Linked DNA regions of Homo sapiens: region 1 is linked to region 2. The links are contacts of gene promoters, found by promoter capture Hi-C in human tissues and cell types (Jung and others, 2019). All regions are on one chromosome and are shown on one strand. Each heading gives the region's core, a stretch centred on a gene start or on the middle of the fragment in contact. The rest is flanking DNA. Distances are from core to core; before and after follow the strand shown. Region 1 has its middle 32 kb from the start of SNORA24B. Region 2 holds the start of SLC51B (SLC51 subunit beta).

Region 1 (6,177 bases), core at 47-2,546, 210 kb after region 2:
CCTCCCGAGTAGCTGGGATTACAGGCGTGCACCACCATGCCCAGTTAATTTTTGTATTTTTAGTAGAGACGGGGTTTCACCATGTTGGCCAGGCTGGTCTCAAACTCCTGACTTCAAGTGATCTGCAGGCTTCAGCCTCCCAAAGTGCTGGGATTACAGGCATGAGTCACCATGCCCCTGCCTCCCATCTCTTATTTTGCACAGGTTTGAGTGCCTTGTGGGGATAGTCCAAGGGTCAGGACAGTCAAACTTCATCAATCCAGACTCACTAGTTTGGAATTCACACCTTTCTATAGTTAACAAAGGATTTACATTAAAAATAATGATGCTCCAGGATGGCAAAGGCTATCAGTTAAGATCTACCCACGTTTATTCCCCGTTAAGACCCAACTTACTCTGTTAAATAAAAAGGAATGTATTTATTGGTCACCTAAGTGAAAAGTCTGGCTTCAAGCACAACTGGATTCAGTACTCAAAACAACGTCATCAGGACAGCAGCTCTGCTTTCCACTGTGTTGGCATCAGTCTGAGACTTTGCATGGCAGCCAGATGGCAGCCTCTCACATTCAGGACCACTGAAAATGCAAGTCTCTTTCCCAGGATCCCCAGCAAAACTTATGGTTCATTTTGATGAGATACTATTATCTCATCAAAAGATATGAGATACTATTATTATATCAAAATGAGATACTATTATCTCAAAACTCGTGGCTCATTTTGATGAGATACTAGTTGGGTCACATGCCTAGGTTTTTTTTTTGTTCGTTTGTTTGCTTTTTTGAGATGGAATCTCGCTCTGTCGCCCAGGCTGGAGTGCAGTGGCATGATCTCAGCTCACTGCAAGCTCCACCTCCCGGATTCATGCCATTCTCCTGCCTCAGCCTCCCGAGTAGCTGGGACTACAGGCGCCCACCACCCCGCCCGGCTAATTTTTTGTATTTTTAGTAGAGACGGGGTTTCACCGTGTTAGCCAGGATGGTCTCGATCTCCTGACCTCGTGATCCACCCGCCTCGGCCTCCCAAAGTGCTGGGATTACAGGTGTAAGCCACTGCACCCGGCCCACATGCCTAGGTTTGAAGCAATCACTGAGGCTGGGAGAAGGCAACTCACTAATTGGCTTGGGCCTGAGTCAATGCTCTACTTGTAGAGTGTGTGAGTGGAGGGGGCAGTCAGTCAGCTTCCCAAGACCAATGAGAGTGGGAAAGGGAGTTGGTTCCCCAGAGAGGAAGTTGAGGTATGGTACCAGGAAGGTGAATGAACCCTGGGTGACAAGAACAACAGATGGACTTATCCAAAGGAAATCGATGGCCAAAGAACTAAGAGGACAAATACTTTTCTAGCCCTTTAAAAATATAATTGATGTGCTAGTTTTAAATCCCTACAGACCTCTGATAGGCAATATATTATGGGCTCATTTGGGATAGCCTGCACTTGCTCAAGAATAAAACTGCATCTTTAAAGCAGCCTGCGATCCATGCTTCCAATAAATTGAGACTGGCCTTTCTGACCCACCAGTGGACAGTTTGACTAAACTAACCAATGTCACCAGCAATGGCTAGAAAGCCTGGCAGCACCACATGCTGTTTTCACTGGGGTCCTCCTTTGGCCAAATGGGGTTAGAGCAAAGTTTGATTCCAGCGGCCCCACCCCTTGACATGGTCAAAGCTCCTCCTGCCCTTGAATCCCTAGTGATTTCTCTTTCGCCACCCTCTCCTAACTCATTACTAAAACCTGCTCTTAGGGAGGCTTTGTTATCAGTCATTTGCACATGTGTATGAATAAGCTTCAAGTCAACAGTTTAGCCTCTCTCAGGATCATCTGCACTTTAAATAAAATGCAAGGCGGCTGGGCGTGGTGGCTCACACCTGTAATCCCAGCACTTTGGGAGGTCAAGGTGGGCAGATCACCTGAGGTCAGGAGTTTGAGACCAGCCTGGCCAACATGGTGAAACCTGTCTCTACTACTAATACAAAAATATTAGCTGGACATGGTGGCACATGCCTGTAATCCCAGCTACTTGGGAGGCTGAGGTAGGAGAATCACTTGAACCTGGGAGGTGGATGTAGTAGCGGTGAGCCGAGATTGCACCACTGCACCTCAGCCTGGGAGACAAGAGTGAAACTCCGTCTCAAAAAAAAAAAAAACAAAACAAACAAAAAAAACAATGCAAGACACTGTCCTTTCCACCCCACTAACCTCAAAAGGTATTTCTGGTGACATCGCAAATGGGACTCCCTGAATTCAAGCAACAAATGTCCACAACCTTCTTTGAAACCCCCACTCATCCACAATGTCTTGTCAATGCATTTTTTTTCTCGTCTAATTTCATTCTCTTTTTTTTTTTTGAGACGGAGTCTCGCTCTGTCGCCCAGGCTGGAGTGCAGTGGCGGGATCTCGGCTCACTGCAAGCTCCGCCTCCCGGGTTCACGCCATTCTCCTGCCTCAGCCTCCCAAGTAGCTGGGACTACAGGCGCCCGCCACTACGCCCGGCTAATTTTTTGTATTTTTAGTAGAGACGGGGTTTCACTGTTTTAGCCGGGATGGTCTCGATCTCCTGACCTCGTGATCCGCCCGCCTCGGCCTCCCAAAGTGCTGGGATTACAGGCGTGAGCCACCGCGCCCGGCCTTCATTCTCTTTTTGCTAACATTCAATCATTACCCTCTACTGTGATAGGGAAGTTTCTTGTATCTTTGCACCCCTTTATTCACTCAATAAACTCTTCTCCAGCACCTACCATATCTTAGATACTTGGATATACAAAGACTGCCTAGTCCCTGTCCTCAAGGAGCTTGCAGTTGAATTTTAATGCAGGAAACCAGATTTGTTTTTTTTGAGATGGGGTCTCTCTCTGTCACCAGGCTGGAGTGCAGTGGCACGATCTCAGCTTACTGCAACCTCTGCCTCCCAGGTTCAACCGATTCTCCTGCCTCAGCCTCCTGAGTAGCTGGGACTACAGGCGCACACCACCACACCCGGCTAATTTTTGTATTTTTAGTAGAGAAGGGGTTTCACCATGTTGGCCAGGATGGTCTTGATCTCCTGACGTCAGGTGATCTGCCCGCCTCAGCCTTCCAAAAGTGCTGAGATTATAGCCGTGAACCACCGCGCCTGGCCTAATTTCCAGATTTTTAACACAAGCAAAGTCTAGCCCCGTGGCTGATATAAAGTATTCAATAAATGCTGCTTTCCCTTTTCAGGGCTGCAGTATATGGACACTACAGCAGAACGCTGGAAATTTTTGAAAAACCCTTTCCAGGTGGACAAGGGCACCAGCCAGAGTGGGTGGAGACGGTGGTTTCTATCTTTACTTGGGAATGTCATGATTTGTTTTGGATGCTCCAAATGTCAGGTTGGAGACGCATGCAAAGGAGAGGGGCTTATTCTAACCAGATCAGGCTAGAGGCAGCCCAGGACACTGTCTCCATGGTGCACAGCCCCAGACAGTTTGGAAACAAACAGAAACCCATCCAGAGGCAGGAGACTGACAAAGGCAAACACAAACAAAGGCCAAGAGATGGAAAACTCATGAGGTGGGGCACAGTAGAGAGGAGGGGAGCGGGGAGAGAGACAAGTGGGGGCTGTGGAGGGGGTTTAGAGAGGGGTGTGGTCCTGTTTTTGTGTGAGCTAAATCCAGCCCCAGGGCCTAAGAATCACCATGGCAACGGGATGAATGCTGCTGACTCCATGCCAACACAAGCCTCCTGGGCTTAGCAGAAATGGGCTCAGATGCGATGGGGCCATGTTCTCAAGAAAAATGTCTGAATTGGGCTGTTTAAATCACAAACTCTCCACCCCTCTCCTGGTTTTGTAGGCAATCAGTGTTTAATGAAATGAATTAAACAGAAATGACACAGAACAACTTCCCCTATTCTACCTCTCTCTCATACACTCGTGCACTTACTCCCATAGAGTAAAACTCTTTCCCTTTCTGGTAGAAACTGACAGCTCATGGGATGCTGTGCATTTTCAGAAGCAAGGACCTCACCTGTGAGAGGTCCCCCCTTACAATGGCATTAGTGACAGAGGACAGATGGGGTTGCTTTTCACAAGACCTTAGGCAGCTGGGGGCCCCTATGAGGTGGCTCCAACTAAACCACTTTCACTTTTCCCAGAGCTGCTTGGCCTATGGGATCTCCCTGAGATTTTGGGTCAGTGCTAAATAGAATGTTAAGTCTCGTGTAGGGCTTGTCTCCTTCCTGCCTCTCCATTCCCAGGTACCCAGAGGCCTCACACTATCCCCTAGTACACTAGTCCTGTGCTAACTCATCCATTAGACATAGTAGGCACCGTGCCTAAGGCCCACATTGCAAAAATGTTTTCTTTTAAAATTAGAAGAAAAAAACTTTTAAGAAAAATTAGAAGAAAAAATGGTTTAGTACATAAATATATTCATTTTTATATCAATGCAGTAATAAAATATAATTTTAAATACTTTTATGGAAGAAAGGGGGCCCAGAAAGGCAAAAGTGCCCAGGGCCCATGGAAGTCATAACGTGGCCCTGCCCTAGTCTTCCCTCCTGCCCACTCGAACCCTCTAGACTCCAGAGTTTTCCTTCCCCCATATCAAAACGTACCTGCTATCTCATGTCCCTCCACTAACCCTGGAGCTCCTGGAGGGCAAGACCATTCTTTATGTATCCTCTGTGCCCACAGTCATATCAGGTATTGCGTTACCATTTCTTCTTTTTGCAGGGAGGGGGGTTGGAGGTGGGATGTATGGGGTGGAGCAGAAAACTCAGAAAAAAAAAAAAAAAAAAGAAAAAAAAAAAAGACAGGGCTAGGTTTGAAACAAATGTTGCCGGAATGAGAGGCCCACTCCTCAGCCCTGCTCTGTAGCAGTGAGCTAATGTGACAGCAGAGTCAAGCCAAAGCAGGGGTTCTTCACTTGAGACATATAGCCAGGTCTCGGGGAACAGAATTCCTGGAAACTGCAAAAACTTCCCATCTATGCAGTCTGACTTTGTCCACATCTGCTATACTGAACTCCACTGAAACTGTTCCTGCTGAGTTTGCCAATATCTCCAATCCAGTAAATCCAACAGACACTTCTCAGGTATAACCGTGGTTTCTCAGCACCATTTGACACTGCTCATCTAGCCCTCCTCTTTGGCTTCCATGACACTTGGCTATCTCAGTCGCCTCCTATTTCTCTGGTCACTACTACTGTCTCCTTTGCAGGCTCTCTGCTCTGTTGGGCCCTTAAAAACAAGTAATAATAGTAGCAGCAACTGATACATATCAGTGATTTACTCTGCCCTGGGCACTACATAAGCATCAATCCTCTTAATCCTCAAAGTAATCCTAGATCCGCTCTCCAACCACCAGCTAGAGTGATTTTTCTAAAAACCGTATCTCATCATTTTCTTGCTTAGAACCTTCTAATGGCTTTCCTCTGCCCACGGCTTTTTTTTTTTTTTTTTTGAGATGGAGTCTCGCTCTGTCACCCAGGCTGGAGTGCAGTCGCACAATCTCGGTTCACTGCAAGCTCCGCCTCCTGGTTTCATGCCATTCTCCTGCCTGAGCCTCCCGAGTAGCTGGGACTACAGGCGCCCGCAACCACGCCCGGCTAATTTTTTGTATTTTTAGTAGAGACGGGGTTTCACCGTGTTAGCCAGGACGGTCTCAATCTCCTGACGTCGTGATCCTCCCGTCTCGGCCTCCCAAAGTGCTGGGATTACAGGCGTGAGCCACCGCGCCCGGCCGCCCACAGCTTTTAAAGTCTTTCAAGATCTGGTCCCTGTCTACCTCTCCAGCCTGATTTCTCATCACTGCCTCTTCCTTTATAACCTGCCTGCTTTTAGCTTCTCCAAGAACTTCAGGTCTTTGCATGTGCTGTTCCTACTGCCTGAAACACTTTTCCTCCACCTTTCAGCCTAGAACCAATTCCTCTGGGGGAAGGAGATTGGTTATGTGATTGACGCTGAAATCAGTCTGCCAGGTTCAACTCCCAGCTCTGCCACATCCTAGCAATAAAACCTTGGGCAAGCTATTAAACTCTCTGGCACTGGCTGGACATAGCGGCTCATGCCTGTAATTGGGAAGCTGAGGAAGGTGGATCACTTGCGGTCAGAATTTTGAGACCAGCCTGGCCAACATGGCAAAACCCTGTCTCTACTAAAAATACAAAAATGGCCGGGCATGGTGGCTCACACCTGTAATCCCAGTACTTTGGAAG
Region 2 (5,630 bases), core at 370-2,869:
GCAGTTCTCCTGTCTCAGCCTCCTGAGTAGCTGGGACTACAGGCGCCTGCCACCACACCTGGCTAATTTTTTTATTTTTAGTAGAGACGGAGTTTCACCTTGTTGGTCAGGCTGGTCTCGAACTCCTGACCTCAGGTGATACACCTGCCTTGGCCTCCCAAAGTGCTGGGATTACAGGCATGAGCCACCACGCCTGGCCTTTGTACCTGCTTTTTCAGGTCTTTGCATGGTTAACCCCTCATCATTCAGTTTTTAGTGTAGTAATATAGTAATCATGTCTCCCCCACCTCATCCCTTTCTATCTTATTATGTTGTTTAAGATATTCACAGAAATGATCACTGCTATAATTATCTTTTAATTATGCTTTTGCTTACTTTTTTGTTGGCTATCTCCCCTGGAGTTTGAGCTCCAATGGAGCAGGGCCCTCACCTGTCTTATTTACCATGTATCTACACAGTAGATGCTCAAGTAACATTTATTCAATGAATAAATGAATGCATTACAAAATGAGGAGGAGCTGGAGTTCCAGGCAGCCCCTAGATTCCCTGTTGGGTCTTCTTTCCTCTGCCCCATGCACACACAGTACACACTGTTGACTAATGTTTAACTCATAGAGGAGTTTGGGCTTGACATGTGACCTCACTCAGCCTCTGTTTCATTTGTGAAGTAAGAAATAAGAGTGGGCGGCTGGGCGTGGTGGCTCATGCCTGTAATCCCAGCACTTTGGGAGTCTGAGGTGGGCAGATCACGAGGTCAGGAGATCAAGACTATCCTGGCTAACACGGTGAAACACCATCTCTACTAAAAATAGAAAAAATTAGCCGGGCATGATGGCACATACTTGTAGTCCCAGCTACTCAGGAGGCTGAGGCAGGAGAATTGCTTGAACCGGGGAGGTGGAGGTTGCAGTGAGCCAAGATTGTGCCACTGCTCTCCAGCCTGGGTGACACAGCGAGACTCCATCTCAAAAAAAAAAAAAAAAAAAAAAAAGGAGTGGGCTTATTTCACATAAGCCCACTCCTTGCTAAACCAACAATGATTGCCTAAGATGCACGGAGCCAGTTGGTGGAAAAGTCCATAGACTATCAGAGTTGAATGGTGCTGGTCAGGTGGGAGGAGCACCTCATTCCTGCTTCCCCATCAAGTTACTTGCCTTGGCCTGCTTCCTACTCTCTGGGTCACTGGTGCTCACACAGCCTTTCCCAACCCCCACCTCCAAAGGTCATATTTTACAGCTCCTTGTGAGGAATTCACATCATGCCATGACCTTCACTATGAGAAAGCACAGGCTGTAAAAGGCCAGCCTGGCTCCCTGCTCCGTGGTTAAATATTGATGATATTGGGCAATAGAGACCTGGAGTGGGCACACTACATATCCCCCTGCAGTGATGGAACCCACAGACCGCAGGTCCTCTGCAGTCCATTCTCCTGCCTGTCCAGAGGATCCGGATGTTTTCTCTTTACTTGAGGCCAACACATAACAATGAAAGCACTGGGCTACTGGTGCTTTCGGATTGTGAAAGTCAGGTGGAGCCTGTTTGCACTCTGAGTGCACTCATTCAAGAGGTCAGTCACCCTGGAGTGATACAGAAGGCTCCAGGCCTGGGCGTGTGCTAAGGCCAGAGCTACCAGATGGGTCCAGCTGCCGCAGGCTCTCCAGGCACTGTCCCCTAAGTGACAGCTGTTACTGCCTGGGAGAGCTCAAGTGCAAAGACTATCCTGTTCTCCCATAAAGAGGAGGAAAAGGAAGATACAGAAATCGGTGCTGCTCCCAACAGCAGATCAAGGCAGTCGTCAGGAACTCAGGATCCGGGGTGAGTGTCCTCATCTTGCCTTGGGGATGGGTGGCCCAGGTCTTTGGCAGAAGTCACAGTCCAATGGCACGATGGTTAAGCCCTGTTTAAAATGCAGAGATCTCCCAGAGGGGCTTAAGGAGACAAGACAACTAAATGCAGTATGACATCCTAAATGGGATCCTGGAACAAGAAAAGAACATTAAAGGCAAAACTAACAAAATGCAAATAAGGCATAAAGTTTAATTTAATCATGCAAATGACAATATGATGCTCACTTTAGAAGCAAACTGGATACGTGCTTTGATAGAAATATGTCTTTGGCCGGGCGCAGTGGCTCACGCCTGTAATTCCAGCACTTTTGGAGGCCGAGGCAGGCCGATCACCTGAGGTCAGGAGTTCGAGACCACCCCGGCTAACGTGGTGAAACCCCATCTCTACTAAAAATACAAAATTGGCCGGGTGCGGTGGCTCATGCCTGTAATCCCAGCACTTTGGGAGGCCGAGGCAGATGGATCACCTCAGGTCAGGAGTTCCGAGACCAGCCTGGCCAATGTGGTGAAATGCTGTCTCTACTAATAATACAAAAATTAGCTGGATGTGGTGGCGGGCACCTATAATCCCAGCTACTCAGGAAGCTGAGGCAGGAGGATCACTTGAACTCGGGAGGCGGAGGTTGCAGTGAGCTGAGATGGTGCCACTACACTCCAGCCTGGGCAACAAGAGTGAAACTCTGTCTCTAAATAAATAAATACAAAATTAGCTGGGCATGGTGGTGGATGCCTATAATCACAGCTACTTGGGAGGCTGAGGCAGGAGAATCACTTGAACCTGGGAGGTGGAGGTTGCAGTGAGCTGAGATCATGCCATTGCACTCCAGCCTGGGCAAAAAGAGTGAAACTCTGTCTCAAAAAAAAGAAAGAAATATGTCGCTTGTTTCTGTGGCATCTAACATAGCTGAGGAGGGCTGACTCTCGGTTCTGGATTTGTATCCAATTTGTCATTTTGGTTTTTTGTTGGTTGGTATGTGTTTACTGTAACAATATTAAACATATTTTAAACATATTTTGGCCAGGCGCGGTGGCTCATGCCTGTAATCCCAGCATTTTGGGAGGACAAGGTGGGCAGGTCGCTTGAACTCAGAAGTTCAAGGCTGGCCTGGGCAAGATGATGAAACCCCATCGCTACAAAAAATACAAAAATTAGCCGGGCGTGGTGGCACATGCCTGTTGTACCAGCTGCTCAGGAGGCTGAGGTGAGAGGATCGCCTGTGCCCGGGAGATGGAGGTTGCAGTGAGCCAAGATGGTGCCATTGCACTCCAGCCTGGGTGACAGAGCCAGACTCTGTCTCAAAAAACAAAAAACAAAAAAACACCACTCCACTGTGGACAATAGCTTACCTGCGTCTTTGTACACTGATCTGATTAGTTCCATTAATTAAATATCAAAAATTGGAATTGTTGTCTCAAAAGGTATAAGTACAATAATACCTACATTTAAAAATGCATACAAAGGCTGGGTGCAGTGGCTCACACCTGTAATCCCAGCACTTTGGGAGGCTGAGGTAGGCGGATCACCAACCTGGCAAACATGGTGAAATCCCATCTCTACTAAAAATACAAAAATTAGCCAGGTGTGGTGGCACATGCCTGTAGTCCCAGCTACTCAGGAGGCTGAGGCAAGAGAATTTCTTGAACCTGGGAGGCGGTGGTTGCAGTGAGCCGAGATCACACCATTGCACTCCAGCCTGGGCAGCAAAAACAAAACTCCATCTCAAAAAAAAAAAAACATACATACAAATAGACAAAATATACATAGAAATATATACACACATTAAAAATGGAATTACATGTATTGTTCTCATGAAAGCAGTGTATACGCATAAGAAACCACACAATACAGGAGTGGTCAACATGAATATCCCATGTGTCTAAATCTCATCCCACACCCTAGAAGAAGACTGTGTTTGGTTTCTCAACTTCAATACTTTTCTTTGTGAGTTCAGGGGTTTGCATATGGCACAGGGGCCTGTGGCTGATGTTACTAATCAATCCAGGCACTCTTACATCTGAGACTGGATGGAATGTCACAATCCTTCTTGGACAGTGCTCTGGACAGTCAGTTGGAGCTAGAACACAAGATCACATCTGTTGGCCATTCTTGTAACTTTGTCTTTCCATGATTTTAGATGGGTAGGTAGGCAGATAGATAGATAGACAGATAGATCGATAGATGATAGATAGATAGATAGATAGATAGATAGATAGATAGATAGAATCTCCCTCAAATGAGTAAGTAGGCAGTGTGCATGTGAGTCCTTGAAAGTCTAAGAAAGGGCCAGGCACGGTGGCTCAGGCCTGTATTCCTAGCATTTTGGGAGGCCGAGGCGAGTGGATTACCTGATGTCACGAGTTCAAGACCAGCCTGGGAAACATGAGGAAACCCCATCATTACTAAAAATACAAAAATTAGCCTGGCGTGGTGGCATGCCCTGTAGTCCCACTACTTGGGAGGCAGAGGCACAAACGAGAACCGCTTGGACCCAGGAGGCATAGGTTGCAGTGAGCTGAGATCACGTCACTGCACTCCAGCCTGGGCGACAGAGCAAGACTCCGTCTCAAAAGAAAAAAAAAGAAAAAAAAAAAAGTCTAAGAAAGGTCTTTTTTTCTCCCTGACTTCCATCTCCACCTTGGCATATGAATGATCATTCACATATGAAAAGCTTAAGTCAGTATTGTATTTGTGTCAAAATATTTTCCCTTGCAATTTGTAGATATGCCTTTTTAGTTTTCTCAGAGCATTTAGTGCTAGAGGAAACTCTGATGTAAAGCTAGTCCTTTTGTTGATACTCCAATTTTCTGTCTGGCTGTTTGCCATCTAGCTGTTTTTGAATGCCCCTGGCTAAGTGTCCAAAGGCTATTTGGGGCTGAGATTGTTGAGCACCTAAGGCAGTGACAGAGTGTGAGGGGACCTGAGAATGCTTCGATCCTCCCTGTACACTTTTTTTCTTGGTGCCCTATGGCATGTTTTATAATTGATCTGTTCAAAACACTTCTCTTGTTTTATTTTAGTTACGTTTATCTCCATTCCTACTCCCTTCCTCCTCCTCCCCAAGACACAGCTTAATGTGTTTAATGCGTGTCCTTTTAAAAAAATGTGTTATTGGGTCAGGCGCGGTGGCTCACTCCTGTAATCCCAGTACTTTGGGAGGCCAAGGCGGGTGGATCACCTGAGGTCAAGAGTTCGAGACCAGCCTGGCCAACATGGTGAAACCCCATCTCTACTAAAAATACAAAAATTAGTGGGGCGGTAGTGACATGCGCCTGTAATTCCAGCTACTTAGGAGGCTGAGACAGGAGAATCGCTTGAACCTGGGAGGCGGAGGTTGCAGTGAGCAGAGATCGTGCCACTGCACTCCAGCCTGGGCGACAGAGTGAGACTCCGTCTCAAAAAAAAAAAAAAAAAAGCGAAATAACTTAACAATTTTAATATTGGCCTGAATAATATATGTTGTCAAAATTAATTTTACCTATTTCTTTTTGTTTTGTAAAGTATGGATGCTAGAAAATTTTATATTAAGTAGTAATAATGCAGTTAGTACAAGAAGACGTCAAAATGTCTGACTGTTTTGAGATTGACTGAGGTTCAGTTTATTATTAATAGTTGGGATGGAAATAGGCCTACACGAAGTAAGGGATTTATCCAGAGAGCATGGATTCAAGTTCTTCCCTTGCAAATAACAGAAACCAATTCTGCTAACTTGTCCAAAAAAAAAAGAAAAAGAAAAAAAAAGCTCTCGGGGTCGGGGCAGGGGGTGCCCTCTCAGCATCAGGAGC

The links. The method cuts DNA at HindIII sites, captures the fragments that hold promoters and counts their contacts. A contact is called where the count stands out against the background at its distance.
Region 1: a fragment that was not itself captured here is called in contact with the fragment with the promoter of SLC51B in region 2 in 1 of the 25 tissues and cell types used here (spleen).

What each region holds. Positions count from the first base shown.
Region 1 is chr15:65,251,003-65,257,179 of GRCh38, forward strand. It overlaps a transcript of PARP16 not described here. Among named protein-coding and RNA genes, the nearest start is that of SNORA24B, 32 kb to the right of the region's middle. RefSeq lists an enhancer at 2,458-2,958. The HindIII fragment of the contact is 7,861 bases long and covers 1-5,227 here.
Region 2 is chr15:65,043,768-65,049,397 of GRCh38, forward strand. It overlaps SLC51B (SLC51 subunit beta), which reads left to right and starts at 1,620. Exons shown (of 4, transcript NM_178859.4): 1 at 1,620-1,815. It also overlaps a transcript of RASL12 not described here. The HindIII fragment of the contact is 9,148 bases long and covers 1-5,630 here.